Linked DNA regions of Homo sapiens: regions 2, 3, 4 and 5 are each linked to region 1. Evidence: promoter capture Hi-C in human tissues and cell types (Jung and others, 2019). All regions are on one chromosome and are shown on one strand. Each heading gives the region's core, a stretch centred on a gene start or on the middle of the fragment in contact. The rest is flanking DNA. Distances are from core to core; before and after follow the strand shown.

The links. Contacts are between HindIII fragments. The study calls those that stand out against the background at their distance.
Region 2: a contact is called between a fragment that was not itself captured here and the fragment with the promoter of AIP in region 1, in 1 of the 25 tissues and cell types used here (spleen).
Region 3: a contact is called between a fragment that was not itself captured here and the fragment with the promoter of AIP in region 1, in 1 of the 25 tissues and cell types used here (spleen).
Region 4: the fragment with the promoter of SLC29A2 here is called in contact with the fragment with the promoter of AIP in region 1 in 1 of the 25 tissues and cell types used here (spleen).
Region 5: a contact is called between a fragment that was not itself captured here and the fragment with the promoter of AIP in region 1, in 1 of the 25 tissues and cell types used here (spleen).

Annotation. Positions count from the first base shown.
Region 1 is chr11:67,481,566-67,484,453 of GRCh38, reverse strand. AIP (AHR interacting HSP90 co-chaperone) reads right to left here and starts at 1,428. Exons shown (of 6, transcript NM_003977.4): 1 at 1,197-1,428. The coding sequence starts at 1,295. RefSeq lists an enhancer at 1,527-1,586. The HindIII fragment of the contact is 17,225 bases long and covers 1-1,926 here.
Region 2 is chr11:66,077,278-66,080,165 of GRCh38, reverse strand. The region is part of intron 1 of PACS1 (phosphofurin acidic cluster sorting protein 1); the gene reads right to left. Among named protein-coding and RNA genes, the nearest start is that of PACS1, 8.4 kb to the right of the region's middle. RefSeq lists an enhancer at 1,977-2,096. The HindIII fragment of the contact is 3,642 bases long and covers 1-2,888 here.
Region 3 is chr11:66,329,790-66,332,677 of GRCh38, reverse strand. It overlaps RIN1 (Ras and Rab interactor 1), which reads left to right. Exons shown (of 10, transcript NM_004292.3): 10 at 1-2,437. The coding sequence ends at 402. Among named protein-coding and RNA genes, the nearest start is that of RIN1, 5.2 kb to the left of the region's middle. The HindIII fragment of the contact is 6,220 bases long and covers 1-2,888 here.
Region 4 is chr11:66,370,238-66,373,125 of GRCh38, reverse strand. SLC29A2 (solute carrier family 29 member 2) reads left to right here and starts at 1,366. Exons shown (of 12, transcript NM_001532.3): 1 at 1,366-1,563; 2 at 1,801-1,882. The coding sequence starts at 1,535. RefSeq lists a silencer at 911-1,670. The HindIII fragment of the contact is 13,916 bases long and covers 1-2,888 here.
Region 5 is chr11:66,413,232-66,416,119 of GRCh38, reverse strand. It overlaps a transcript of NPAS4 not described here. Among named protein-coding and RNA genes, the nearest start is that of NPAS4, 6.4 kb to the left of the region's middle. RefSeq lists enhancers at 1,517-2,035, 2,036-2,554. The HindIII fragment of the contact is 7,963 bases long and covers 1-2,888 here.

The sequences.
Region 1 (2,888 bases), core at 179-2,678:
ACCATGCTGCATCTCTGAAGTCAGTTTCCACATCGGTAAAACGGAATCAACAACAGTACCTATCTCACATTGTAGGAAATAAACGTGTGAAGCATGTAGCACAATGTTCGAATAGTGAGCACTCAATCAGTGCTGGCGATTGGTTATTTAACACCACCTGTTTCTGATCTTGGGGTGCCATTGTTCACATCTCTCCTTCTGATGTCTGTTCCATCCAGGATCCCCCTTGCCAGCCCCTTCTTCCAACGCCACCAACCCCCCAGCACATGGGGGCATGAACCCACACCACACATCCTGTCTCTTCTTAGAGAAGATATCTTTTCATACAGCGGATCACTCCAGCCATGCAGCTCCCCTCTGCTCTCAGGGCACTTATACTGCACTGGGCTAGGATGCTTAGCTGCCCGATTCGGCACGGTGCTGGCCAGGGGGCATGTGCTCATTTGCTCAATGTGCATGTCCTGCCTGACTGCTCTGCTGGGCACAGGGGCTGCCCCTGGGAGGTTCCCTACTCTGCAAACAAGTGGCAGCTGGGAAAAGCACTCCGGGAGGAGGCAACTACAGGAGAAGCAGGGAAGCCTGGAGTTGTAGGTTGGGGGAGAAGCGGGCAGAGGGGCTGGATCTGGGGGCCTGGCAAAAAGGAGAAAAGTGGGAGGTTCTTTACTTCCCAACCCTCATCTGTCCCAACAAGCCCCTAGTGCAGCAGGAAGGCTGCTAAAGAGTCCCTGTCTGGGAGACCTGACCTCTGGGCCCGTTCTCCGGCTTTGCACGTCCCAGGGTCTTGGTTTTCCACTCTAAACAGCGGCAGTTGGTCTAAGTGTTTTCAGAAGGCCCTTCCATCTACAAAGGATCATGAGCCTTGAAACCCAGATACCCGAGGACCACTCCCGGCCCTGGGTTTCCTCCAGCGTGGGGTCTGCCCAAGCACTGAGATCAACCCCCAACCCCAACCCGCTTGTGATGACTGACGGCCTCCCCCACCAATGCTGCTACAAGGCCGAGCCAGGGGGCGGGGCAGACAGGCCCGAATTCACCCCCTACTTAAATTCAGCCCAATCAGCGTCGAGTTCTGCATGTGAGCGGTAGGGGCAGTGGACGCTGCCCTCTGGGCATGCGCAACCTCTCGCCTAAGGCCTCCTCCCGCCTCGCATGCGCACCACGCCGCAGAGGGGGAGAAGGGTAGGGTAGACACGAACCTTGGTCCCATCTTGAAAGTCCGGGAGCTCTCCTCGGCCTTCCTGTATCACACGTTTTTGGATCCCGTCCTCCCGGAGTCTTGCGATGATATCCGCCATCCTCCTTCCCCGCTGCTCCCTTTCGGCAACTTCCGGACTCGCTCGGTAGCTTCCGGACTTGCTTCGGCAACTCCTAGCACCTCGGCAGCTTCCGAGCTAGCGCCATTTTGGTTGAGGGCAGAAGCCAAAAGGGACTGAGCGTGGAAACGGATGGTGATTGGTTCTCTGCGCTGGGGCTGAGCGCGCGCGTCTGCTCGGGGGCGGAGCCTAGGAATGTCTCGGGGCTGGACCCCAGCCTGTCAAGGAGGAAGGGCCGGGGTCCGCGGGCCGGGCGGGACGAGGACGTCCCTAACAATTGTCATTGAATTGATTGGGACTGCGGCCGTGTGGCACTTTGTTTGAAGTTGTGGATGGAATATAACAGCACTGCAGAGTTAGGAAAATGAAAAAAAAAAAAAACACCCGTAAGCCACACCCTCAAAGTGTTATGATTTTTGTGTATTTTCTTCCGGCTTTTTCTCTTTCGCATATCTAGTATGATTGTCGGGACTCTTGCATCCTGGATCTTCCTCTTTCAAAAAATAAAAAGAGGAAGAGGGAAAGAAAGGTGGAGAAGGAGACCAAGAGAGCCCATTGCGGGGTCGGAAATGAGTCATAGTTGTGCCCAATTAATATTAGGGAATAATCGATGAATGATAGAAATGAGGTACTTTAGCGCCGGGCGCGGTGGCCCTGTAACCCCACCACTTTGGGAGGCCGAGGCGAGAGGATCGCTTGAGCCCAGGAGTTCGAGGCTGCAGTGGGCCGTGTTCGTGCCACTGCACTCCAGGCTAGCCGACAGAGCGAGATGCTGTCTCAAAACAAAACAAAAAAAAAAAATTAAATTAAAAGAAAAGAGAAATGAGGTACTTTGGGGCTAAAACAACTTTTGTTTTTCTTTTTTTGAGACGGAGTCTCGCTCTGTCACCCACGCTGGAGTGCAGTGGCACAATTTCAGCTCACTGCAAGCTCTGCCTCCCGGGTTCACGCCATTCTCCTGCCTCAGCCTCCCGAGCAGCTGGGACTACAGGCGCCCGCCACCATGCCCGGCTAATTTTTTGTATTTTTAGTAGAGACAGGGTTTCACCGTGTTAGCCAGGATGGTCTCAATCTCCGGACCTCGTGATCCGCCCACCTCGGCCTCCCAAAGTGCTGGGATTACAGGCGTGAGCCACAGCGCCCAGCTGATATGAAACATTCTAAATAAAATACTAGGCTAATTGAATTCACTAATGTCATGTAAAAATGCATCAGTATGGGGCAGGTGTGGTGGCTTATGCCTCTAATACCAGCACTTTGGGAGGCCAAGGCAAGTGGATCTCCTGGATCTCCTTGAGCTCACAAGTTCAAGACCAGCCTGGACAACATGGCAAAATACCATCTTCACCAAAAATACAAAAAATTAGGTGGTGTGGTGGTGCACGCCTGTGGTCCCAGCTACTCAGCAGGCTGAGGCTGGAGGATTGCTTGAGCCCAGGAGATGGAGGTTGTAGTGAGCCAAGATCGCACCACTGCACTCCAGCCTGGGTGATAGAGTGAGACCCCATCTCAAAAAAAAAAAAAAAGCATCAATATGCTAAGTGAAATAACAGTACCAGTCACATACAGGAAAAT
Region 2 (2,888 bases), core at 122-2,621, 1.4 Mb after region 1:
AAACACTATAGGAAAATCAGTGTCATTGATTTGACAAATGTAGTTATTGAGCATCTATAAAGTAACTAAATAAAGGAACAAGATTATTTCCAGTAATGGCGAGTAGGTGTGAAGTAGCTTTATAAACTCCCAGAAGGGGTTGGGCAGGTGAGGACAGCCTTCCAAGGTAGCAGGTCAGTGAAGAGCTGAATGATACCCAGGAGCTAGTCTCAGCGATCCAAGGATCCAGGGAAAGGGTATCACAGGTAGAGGGAACAGCAAGTGCAAAAGCCCTAAGGCGAGGGTGACCCACCGCAGGAACAAGGGGAGAACGCAAAGGTGAGGTCAAAGACATGGGAAGGGGCTGCATCGTTTAGCATCTCCTGAACCATGAAAAGGGGATCTTTTTTAAGTATGACGGAAAGTTACTGGATGGTGTCTCTTATCTTCACCCACTAGAATGCAGACTTCATGAGATCAAGGATTTTGCTTGCGGCACATATCAGCTGGTCTATAAGCTTTTGCTGAATGAATGAACTGGAAGATTATAGAGGGGGTGTGACAAGTTCTGATTTTCATTTTAAAATATCACTCTGAACTGCCACTAGTGGTTACTTTCTGGGAAGGACTAAGGTGGCAGAGGTTGGGAGGGATTACAATGCAATGTGTTTGAGAGGTACCATAAAACAGAAAAACAGAAGGGAAAAGCTGCTCCCTAAACCCTGAAGCCATTTGGTGTTTGTAAACAAGAGGCAGGAAAAGGTTAGTGAGGAGGGATCAGTAAATGATGACTGATGCCCCAAGCCTTAGTGTGTTCTAAACTTTTTTTTTTTTTACCCAGACCTTTTCCCAGCAATAAACTATTAAAAAAAAAAAAAAAAAACCTGCTACAAAGAATGTCTCACCTACCAAGAGGAACAAAAGAAAACTCACAGACAGATACAGAAGTGCACATACTCACACACAAACACACACAATGTTTCAGAAAAACAACTGAAAAGAGGCTGGGCGGTGGCTCACGCCAGTAATCTGCTGACGCGGGCTTGAGGTCAGGAGTTCAAGACTAGCCTGGCCATCATGGTGAAAGCCTGTCTCTACTAAAAATACAAAAATTAGTCGGGCATGGTGGTATGCACCTGTAATCCCAGCTACTTGGGAGGCTGAGGCTGGAGAATCACTTGAACCCGGGAGACAGAGGTTGCAGTGAGCCAAGATAGCGCCACTGCACTCCAGCCTGGGCAAGAGAGCAAGACTCTGTCTCAAAAAGAAAAAGAAAAGAAAACAGCTGAAAAGAAAAAACGCCTTCCTATATCTCAGCACAATAACCAGCCTAGCCTGGGTGCGGTGGCTTACGCCTATAATCCCAACACTATGGTAGGCTGAGGCGGGAGGATTGCTTGAGCCCAGGAGTTTGAGATCAGCCTGGGCAGCATAGTGGGACCTTGTCTCTGCAAAAAATTAAAAAGTTAGCAGGGCATGTTGGCATGTGCCTGTGGTTCCAGCTACTTGGGAGTCTAAGGAGGGAGGATCACTTGAACCCAGGAGGTTGAGGCTGAACAGAGTGAGCTGTGTTCATGCCACTGCATTCCAGTTTGGGCAACAGAGTGAGAGCCTATCTCAAAATCAAAAACAAAATAACCAGTCTAAAATCCTTCAGAGACAATTAACATGCCAGTCATACCCAAAATGTTAGCTGGGGGAAATCCTACTCATAATAAAGTTTTGAGAGGTAGTTTGGAAAACTAGTTTAGAAAGAAATCACATAACCACTAATGTGTCCAAAAGATCTGTCATTTGGAGGAGTTACACAGACTACAAAGAAGGGAACAGGTGTTACAGTAGGGAGCAAATTTAAGGCGTCACTCCTTTCACATCTACCTATATTTATACGAGGTCACTAAAAAACATACACAGCAAATTACCCACATCACAATTTCTAAGACGCATACAGTTCTAAAAAGTGTTTTTGCCAAAATGACCTGTGGATACCACTGTATTTACAAAACTAAAAGTACTGAAAGTGTTGAAAGGATGAAGGGAGCCCAGGTTGATCTGAGAGTGGACACAGATCATTACTCACAAGGAGAAAAGAGGAAGAACGATATTTGAGATTCAGAAAAATTGTTGAAGCTAGCACTAAACTCAAATATTCCAACCTTTGTTGTACCTTAAAAACCTTACAGTTGGCCAGGCATGGTTGCTTACAACTGTAATCCCAGCACCTTGGGAGGCTGAGGTAGGTGAATCACCTGAGGTCAGGAGTTCGAGACCAGCCTGGCCAACATGGTGAAACCCCGTCTCTACTAAAAATACAAAATTATCCATGCATGGTGGTGCATGCCTGGAATCCCAGCTACTCGGGAGGCTGAGGCAGGAGAATTGCTTGAACCTCGGAGGCGGAGGTTTCCGTGAGCCGAGACTGCGCCTTTACACTCCAGCCTAGGTGACAAGAGCAAAACTCCGTCTCAAAAAAAAAAAAAAAACAAACTTACAATTTAAAAGGATCTGCACAAAATTAAATAAACAAACCTGCCATCAACACTATTTTATCACCTATGCCTCACCATCTACCTCAACACAAGGAAAGTAATGACTTAGAACATTCTCTATTCACCCATTTTTGTTTGAGACAGGGTCTTACTCTGTTGCCCAGGCTAGAGTACAGGGGCGAGATCATGGCTCACTGAAGCCTCGACCTCCAGAGCTCAAGTGCTCTTCCCACCTCAGCCTCCTGAGTAGCTGGGACCACAGGCGCACGCCACCACACCTGGCTAATTTTGTTTATTTTTTGTGGAGAGGGGTTGCCATGTTGTCTAGGCTGGTCTCAAACTCCTGGGCTCAAGTGACCCTTCCGCCTCAGCCTCCCAAAGTGCTGGGATGATAGGCATGAGCCACCACGCCCAGCCTTG
Region 3 (2,888 bases), core at 162-2,661, 1.2 Mb after region 1:
TCGATTGCCACCCTGAACCAGCTCTGTGCCACCAAGTTCCGAGTGACCCAGCCCAACACTTTTGGCCTCTTCCTGTACAAGGAGCAGGGCTACCACCGCCTGCCCCCTGGGGCCCTGGCCCACAGGCTGCCCACCACTGGCTACCTCGTCTACCGCCGGGCGGAGTGGCCTGAGACCCAGGGGGCTGTGACAGAGGAGGAGGGCAGTGGGCAGTCAGAGGCAAGAAGCAGAGGGGAGGAGCAAGGGTGCCAGGGAGATGGGGATGCTGGGGTCAAAGCCAGCCCCAGGGACATTCGGGAACAGTCTGAGACAACTGCTGAAGGGGGCCAGGGTCAAGCCCAGGAAGGCCCTGCTCAGCCAGGGGAACCAGAGGCAGAGGGAAGCCGGGCAGCAGAGGAGTAGCTTGAAGTGGCCAGAAGGGTCATTCGGGGCGGGAGACCCTGAGCCTGCTGAGAAATCCTTTTAGCGCCAGCAAGCCCCACCCAGGGCCCTGTCCTGTGTCTGCCACCACCTTTGTCTGATACTTGTTTCCAGGGAAGCTGGGGGAACTGCCACATCTGAGGAACTGGAATAAAGATGAGGGGGCTTCGGGGGCCCCCAGACTGTGTGCCCAAGGCCCCTTGCCTCTTGTTCTTCTCCCCCAGCTGAGGGTGAGCCAGCCTGCAATGAGGGTGTGCCAAGTGGGGGCGAATCCGACAGATGCCCAACCTCTGACGTGGGGAGGGTGACGGTCTCAGCTCCTTTTACCCTTCCCCTCATGGGCATGGCTGAGGCAGGGCTCCACCCAAGTATCTCCCACCAGGCTGGGACTTCCAGACCCTAAAAGGTTCCAATGGCTCTTAGGTGTCAGGAGGATTTAGAGAGGCCACAGAACAGCAGCAAAGGCTTGGGGCCCACCCCTGTCCTGGACACCAGAAGGACCTGCACCTGCAAGCCTCAGTACTCTCATCTGTAAAGTGGGGACACTATTGCTGCCCTGCTCGGCTCCCAGAAGTGTCCCAGTGATCAAAATGGGTGATTTTGCTACAAGCAGAGCTCATGGCAGAAAGGGAGGGAGAGAGCTGGGCTGCTAACTCTCTCCCGGAGTCCGCTCTCTGCCAGACAGGGCTCCCACCTGCTGATGCCCAGTTCAGGGAGGTTATTCCCCTGGAAATCAGGCCCTGGGGAGAAAGTACCCAAGTTACAGTCTCTCCCCAAGATTTGGAGTCCTCCCAGGCCCTCCAGCATCTCTGGGGAGATCCACCAGCTGGCAGATAAGCTTCCAGAATGGAGAGGGGGCTCAGAAACCATGCTCTCTGCACTAAACTCTTGGCCCTCACAAAAGCTTTACTTGGCCATGACTTGTTGGGCCCACTGAGGGTCAGGAAAGTGACTCCCAGGATGTCATATAGCAAGTCCTTAAGGGTTCCCCCGCCCAAACCAGGGCATCAGGTTCCAACTCCACCCTCCATTCTAAGCCACCCACAAAGGCCGGGGCAGCCCCCAAGGAAGCCCAGAGCAGGCAGCAAATCCAAACAAGGAAAAGTGCCGACCACCAACCACGAGGGGGTGTGCACGGCCCGGGAATCTGCCGAGAGGGTGACCACCCAGGGGTGAGGGCGCCTCCAAGGCTGCAGCAGCAGAGGGGGTCCCGGGCCTTGCAGTCCAGCAGCATCAGGCAACCTGGGGACAGCGCAGGGGCCAAGGCCACTGGCCCCCAGGTCCCTTAGATTCTGGGGTCTGGGTAAGGCCAGCCTCTTGGGGGCCATCCCCAGGAAGGAAGGAATTGTCCCCTTATGGAGGATGACCCCAGAGGCTCTCTCCTCGGGCACTGAGCACAGAGGGGACGTCAGCCCAAATGTCAGACATGACAACTGGGAGGTAGAAATCGTGGACATTGGCTTTTTGGGTTTTTTTGTTTGTTTGTTTGTTTGAGATGGAGTTTTGCTCTGTCGCTCTGGCTAAAGTGCAGTGGTGCCATCTCGGCTCACAGCAACCTTCGCCTCCCAGTTCAAGTGATTCTCCTGCCTCAGCCTCCCGAGTAGCTGGGACTACAGGTGTGCACCACCACACCTGGCTAATTTTTGTGTTACTAGTAGAGACGGGGTTTCCCCATGTTGGCCAGGCTGGTCTCAAACTCCCGACCTCAGGTGATCCGCCCGCCTTGGCCTCCCAAAGTACTGGGATTACAGGCGTGAGCTACCACACCCAGCCAGACATTGACTTTCAGATGAGCAGTCCAGATACAGCCCAGTTGCACGGCTCCCATTTTTTTTGTCACTAGGCCACCAGCAGCTCTTCCCTCCCCACTTCCACGCCCTCCCAAGGTTCTCGCTGATAGGAAGTGTCCCGTTGGCTCTTCTATTCCCCTCCCTGTTTCACCACTCACCCCTAGTGCCTCACACAGTCCAATGCTGAGCACAAATGCCATAGGTGTTCAATAAATGTTGTTCACTGATTGGAGTTTGATAACCAGGAGTGAGGGACAGTGAGGCAGAAACCTGGGGAGTATAAGGGAGGACTCGGTTCTGGGAATCAAACACGGGATGTGTCAAGCTCAGTCCCAGAGGAAGGACCTGGAATGTTTGTAGAGGGTGCTCGGAGGATCCCAGGGGCCGGATGTACAACTGGCCTCATGGGAATGAGGCTCTGGGGCCTCTACAAGCCCTTCCCACCCTTGCCAGGCTCAGCATGACCTGACCCCCTCCCTGCCCTCCCCAGTGATGGGGCACCACAGGGAGCTGCTGCCTGGGTCTTGTGGTTTTTCTTCTCAAGAAACTCTGGGCTGGGCCTGGTGGCTCACGCCTGTAATCCCAACACTTTGGGAGGCCGAGGCCGGTGGATCACCTGAGGTCAGGAGTTCAAGACCAGCCTGGCCAGCATGGTGAAACCCCGTCTCTACTAAAAAT
Region 4 (2,888 bases), core at 117-2,616, 1.1 Mb after region 1:
TTGTCAGCAGACCCTCTGAGGCTAACTGAGGGGAAGGGATGGGAAGGCAGATTAAGAAGTGTTAGCAACCTGTTAACACCCTTGACATATTCAGAGGCTTGAAAGAAAATGGGAAGAATAACTTTCTCTTTCGGTGTAATTTAATGCTGTCTCTGTTCTCCCTAAAATCACCTGCATTTTACTGCAACCACCCATTTATCACTCAACGGCGCTAGATGCTGCCAGTAAACCAATGGACCAGATAAGCACAGCCTCTGCCCCTACAGACTCTCAGTCGGCTGGAGGAAAAACATAAGCAACCTGGGAATGGCTATAAAATGTCATTGCTTAAGAAAATAGTTTGTGGCCGGGCGTGGTGGCTCACGCCTGTAATAGCAACATTTTGGGAGGCCGATGCGGGCGGATCACCTGAGGTCAAGAGTTCGAGACCAGCCTGGTCAAAAGATGAGTTCGAGACTAGACTGGCCACCTCTTCAGTAGAGCTGGTGAAGCCCCGTTTCTACTAAAAATACAAAAATTAACCGGACGTGGTGGCATGCGCCTGTAGTCCCAGCTACTCCTGAGGCTGAGGCACCAGAATCGCTTGAACCTGCCTGGGAGGGGGAGGTTGCAGTGAGCCAAGATCACGCCACTGCACTTCCGCCTGGGCGACAGAGCGACACTCAGTCTCAAAAAAACTAGTTTGTGTTTTGGAGCCTCTCACTTCTCCAGCGTCCCCGATACGCCCGGGGATTGCAGAGAACCCACACCTATTCGTAGATTATGAGAGTAGGAGCAAATTAATGATTTATAGTCTTTTCAAATTTTTTTTTTTAACAGAAAAAGAGTAGGGAGTTGAAAGTAATGCTGTTTTTTTCCAGGCACTCCCGGGGACCCAGCGCGGCGAAGCCCGCCAGGATCGCGGGCGACCTGTGGCAGCTCTGGTTCCCCCGCCCGGGCCCGGCTCGGGTTACGCTCTGGGCGGGGACTCCGCAGCGGCTCCCTAGTTAGGGGGCGCCCCGGTGGGTTCCAGCTTTAGGGGTCGCAGGAGCGGCTCTGGCATCACCTCGGAGCTGACGAAGCGGGAAGAGCCCCGCACCAGTGCTGCCCCTACAGAGCTCTCGGCGGGGGGTGGAGGTGAGGTTACACCTCGTCCCTACCCCCGCCTTCCCCTCCGCCGCAGGGATCCGGGACCCGCCCCCGCGGAGAGGACGGGGGGCTGCGGGGAGGGGCTGTGCGGGGAGCGGGCGGGTTCCGCAGGCCCCTAGGTGGGGCGGGGCCCGAGCCAGAGTCGAGTCCCTGAGGCGGGTGGGGGAAGGAGAGACGGGTGGCGCGACCCTCTGTCCCCGCCTCGGGGCGGAGCCCAGGTCCCAGCCTGCGGAGCGCGAGACACGCCGAAATCCGCCCGAGGCTACCTGTGCGACTCCAGCCGCCCTGCACCGGAATCTGGGGAGACCCGCCCCCCGCCCCACCGGTCTGCGGCCCTCCGCCCCAGCGCAGGTGCAGGTGCGGCTTCTCTGCCCCTTTCACCCCAGGCGCATCCGCCGCGGCGGCCATGGCGCGAGGAGACGCCCCGCGGGACAGGTGAGTGGGCCCGGGTGCGTTGCAAGTGGCCGGGGGCGTTGCAGACCCGCTCCCTGAAGGCGCTCCGAGGCTCAGAGAAGACCGGATCGAACTACAATTCCCATCAGCCGACTCCCTCGGCCGCCGGAACCGGGGTGATCGGGGTTGTAGTCCGCTCCGGAGGGGGTGGCCTGGGAGGCGGGAGGGCCTGCGGAGGCGGGTGCGTCCTCGGGGTGACCTTCCCACCGATCCCCACAGCTACCACCTGGTCGGGATCAGCTTCTTCATCCTGGGGCTGGGCACCCTCCTTCCCTGGAACTTCTTCATCACCGCCATCCCGGTGAGACTCCTGGCGGCGTGGCAGCCTCGTGGCCACAGCCAGCACCCCTCCCTCCAGCCCTTTGGATGAAGCTTAGCGGGCGCTTCCTCACCGCGCACCTGTGACCCCTCGTTGAGCTCATTATGGGCTGAAGCTCGGAGAGGGGAATGCTTCCCCCGTGGCTAGGAAAGTAGAACTTCAGCAATGCCCACATCTCAGAGGGGCAAGGCCACCAGCCCACAGGGTCTGGAATGAGCAAAGGCGCTGCCACCCCTCTCTGTGTGTCGTTATTCCTGAGTCAGTCACCCCAAAAGTCGGTTATCGAACGTTTGATTTTCTTTGAAATACCATGAATTTCATTCATTCACTCATTCATTCAACAAACTTTTTTTTTTTTTTTTTTTTTGAGACAGAGTCTGGCTCTTTCGCCCAGGCTGGAGTGCAGTGGCGCCATCTCGGCTCACTGCAAGCTCCGCCTCCCGGGTTCACGCCATTCTCCTGCCTCACCCTCCCGAGTAGCTGGGACTACAGGCGCCCGCCGCCACGCGCGGCTATTTTTTTTTGTATTTTTAGTAGAGACGGGGTTTCACCGTGTTAGCCAGGATGGTCTCGATCTCCTGACCTCGTGATCCTCCCGCCTCGGCCTCCCAAAGTGCTGGGATTACAGGCGTGAGCCACCGTGCCCAGCCTCATTCAACAAACTTTTAATGTGCATCTACTGTGGAGCAGGCACTGGGGACACAGGAGGAAACAGCAGGGAGGCTCTTCAGGGAAGGCAGAAATGTGGGGTTTGCATTGTCTTTGGGACCGGGTTATTCATCTGTATTCACTGCAACAACTTTGCAAATGCTTCTTGGGTACTGGCTCTGTGCTGGGCCCTGGAAACCCAGAGATGAATCAGCCCCTGGGCTTGAGAGCAAGAGGGGGCCAAAGAGCTATTAATAATGTAACATGATGCGTGACATTCCAGGCTTGCAGCAGAGTGCAGTGGGTCCCCAGGGGAGGGAGAAAGTTCCTTCTGCTTCAT
Region 5 (2,888 bases), core at 137-2,636, 1.1 Mb after region 1:
GATATCATTATTGTTATTTATATACAGTCTTGCTCTGTCATCTAGACTAGAGTGCAGTGGCCTGATCATAGCTCACTGCCACCTCAAACTCCTGGGCTGAAATGATCTTCTGTGTCAGGATCTCGAGTAGCTGGGACTACAGGCATAAACTACTACACCCAGATAATTTAAAAAAATTTTTTCTGCCCAGGCTGGTCTTGAACTCCTGACCTCAAGCAATCCTCCCACCTTGGCCTCCCAAAGTGCTGGAATTACACGTGTGAGCCACGACACCCAGCCTTGACTGATATTATGATGCTCATTTGATAGATGGTGAAACAAAGGCTCAGAGATAGATAATGACTTAATCAAAGTCACACAGCAAGTCTGGCAATGCTGAGCCTCACCCCTAGTTCCTGCTCCCAACCCAAGCTTTCTCTTTTGCACCACGTGATAGGGCTAGGGTTTACAAACTATGGACTGCAAATCTAGCCACATCTAGCCTGCTGCCTCCTTTTGTAAATAAAGTTTTATTGGAACACAGTCACATTCATTCATTTACTCATTGTCTATGGCTGTTTTCACATTACAATGGAAGAGCTGAGTAGTTGCAACAGAGACCATATGGTTCAAAAAGCCTAAAGAACTTTTTGACACTTTTTACTAATTGATCCTTTAGAGAAAAAGCGTGCCATCCTTAGACCAGAGGATGAGTTCACACCAGGAATATCTCCACTTGTTTCTCTTTCTCACCCAGAAAGCTCTCTTAACCCAGGGTATACCAAGCTATCATTTCAGCCCCCTTTACTGTTCCAAAGGCCATGGAGAAGTAGTGCTCCTGGACAACTTAAAGGAGGAGAGGTGGGAAGCCCAATGGGTCAGGCTCCTTATTGGTTTCCAGCCCCTTTTGTGGCTGTGGAGATGTACCCTCCCCATGCAGGATGATGCTCCACTTCCTGCACCAGGAGTTGGAACAGGCAATGAGGAGGCAGGGTACCCCATTCCATCCCTATTCCGACCCTAGTCTTCAGGACTGCATTTTGGGCAGGGGGGTCTCAGGGCTGGTGATTAACGAATTGTCAGGAAGACAAAATTTACATATGGGAGGAAAAGGAAGGTATTGTGGGATATTGGGCCTCCCGAAGCCTCCAGTCTGACCCAGGGGGGAAGAATCTCTCTATGCCTTCTCAGAGAGGTTGATTAACTTGCCTAGGATCACACAGCTAGAATGAGATAAATCCACAATTGAACCCAGGTTTTCCTGACTTCTACTGTTTTTTTTCTAGGTTGTTCTTTTGAATTGGTGGATTTGAAACCAGGGAAAGGTTTTCTAACAGATTCCTAAGCACCTCCCCATCCTGCGTCCATGGCTCCGCGGTCAGTGCAGTGAGAATAGGAAACCCACGCAGAGCTGGCTTGTGCAGTGACCGTGTTGTCTTCCGCTGCATCTTAGCAAGCTGTTTTCCTTTTCCTGAGGCCTTTTCATTATGCTATCACTCCCTCAATTCTACTTGCACATGAAAGCATTCAGAACATTTTATCTATTTATGGTTATGAAATCAACAAAGCTCATGTAAAGAGGGTGCAGGCTGGCACCCACGCATTGAGACGGCCAGAGCTGGGTGAATGAGCTGAAAGCCAGGAAGGTGAGGGACATAGAACCATGGAGGGGGTGGGAGAGGGAGAGTAGAGCCCAGGTGGGAAAAGATGAAACTTTTGTGGGCAATGTCCTGAAGGCAGGGCTGAGAGAAGAGGATGCAAGGAATGCAGTGAGGAGCAAGTCAGAGCAGCCACATTCCAAGAGGGGAAAGAAACCTAATCAACTAAAGCCACTTTTCAAATGCAGAGCAGCGACCAATACTCTTGACCTGCCCTGGGGAGGCTGGAGGAGGCGGATTTTCCTCACATTCATTTTCAGAGTCCTCTCCACCACCACTCCCAGCTGGCAAATTCTGGCCCTTCTGGTCCTCCAGTGAGGTCCGGGGACCCCCTCAGTGCCCCCCAGCCCCTGTGCTTCCTCGTCACCGCACTCTGCACCCTGCATTGTCCCTGTGTGTTTACTTGGCTGTCTCCCCTACCAGCATCTACAACTGGTCTTCATGTTCCCAGCATCCAGCACAAGGCCTGGCACAGGGCAGGGGCTCAGGCATGTAAGTCATTCATGCAACAAACAGCTGAGGGCAGAGTTTGTGCCAGCCTCTGCAGTGATGTGATGGTGCCCACAGACAGCTGGTCTTGGCCTCATGGAACCTGCAGGCTGGTGAGAGAGCAAGGGGTCCATCCAGCCACTTCAGTGGGATACTGCTGTCAAGGAGGCATGCTGGGAGTTTGGGGAGAGCAAAAGGAGGGGTGACCCTGCCTGAGGAGTTGGCACCGGCCTCCCCAAGCAGGTGCATTTGAGTTGAGCTGCTGGTGGCAAGTCAGTGTTGACTGGGCCAGGCTGTGCTGGGTGGGTGGCTGGGTGGACAGAGGAGTGTGGCCTCATAAATGAGATTCAACACAGTGCCAGGTAGCCACAAAAGAAGCCACTGTAGCTGAGGTTGTGTTAACAGGGACATGCAGCAAAAGTGGAGAGAGGGCAGCCTCTGTCAGGGCCAGGAGGTTTGGCTCTAGGACTTATGCTATGGGTCCAAGCCTAGCCTTGAGCAGAGCAGCCAGTGAGGAGGAGCCAACTGCACCCAGGGCTGTGAGGCAGGGCCCAGGCCATCCCCCAGGCCTGCCTCTGGTAAGCCCTCCAGCCTGTCTGGCCTCATGCACCCCCTTGCCTCTCTTCCAGCTGCATAAGCCTTCTTCCAGTCCCTGGCCTGCCACCCTCCCGGCCGCCACAGTGCTTTTGCACATGCTGTTCTCTCTCCTGGGGTGCTGCTGCCTCTCTCCTCTGCCGAGTTCTTCCTAATTTCCCGTTAGTT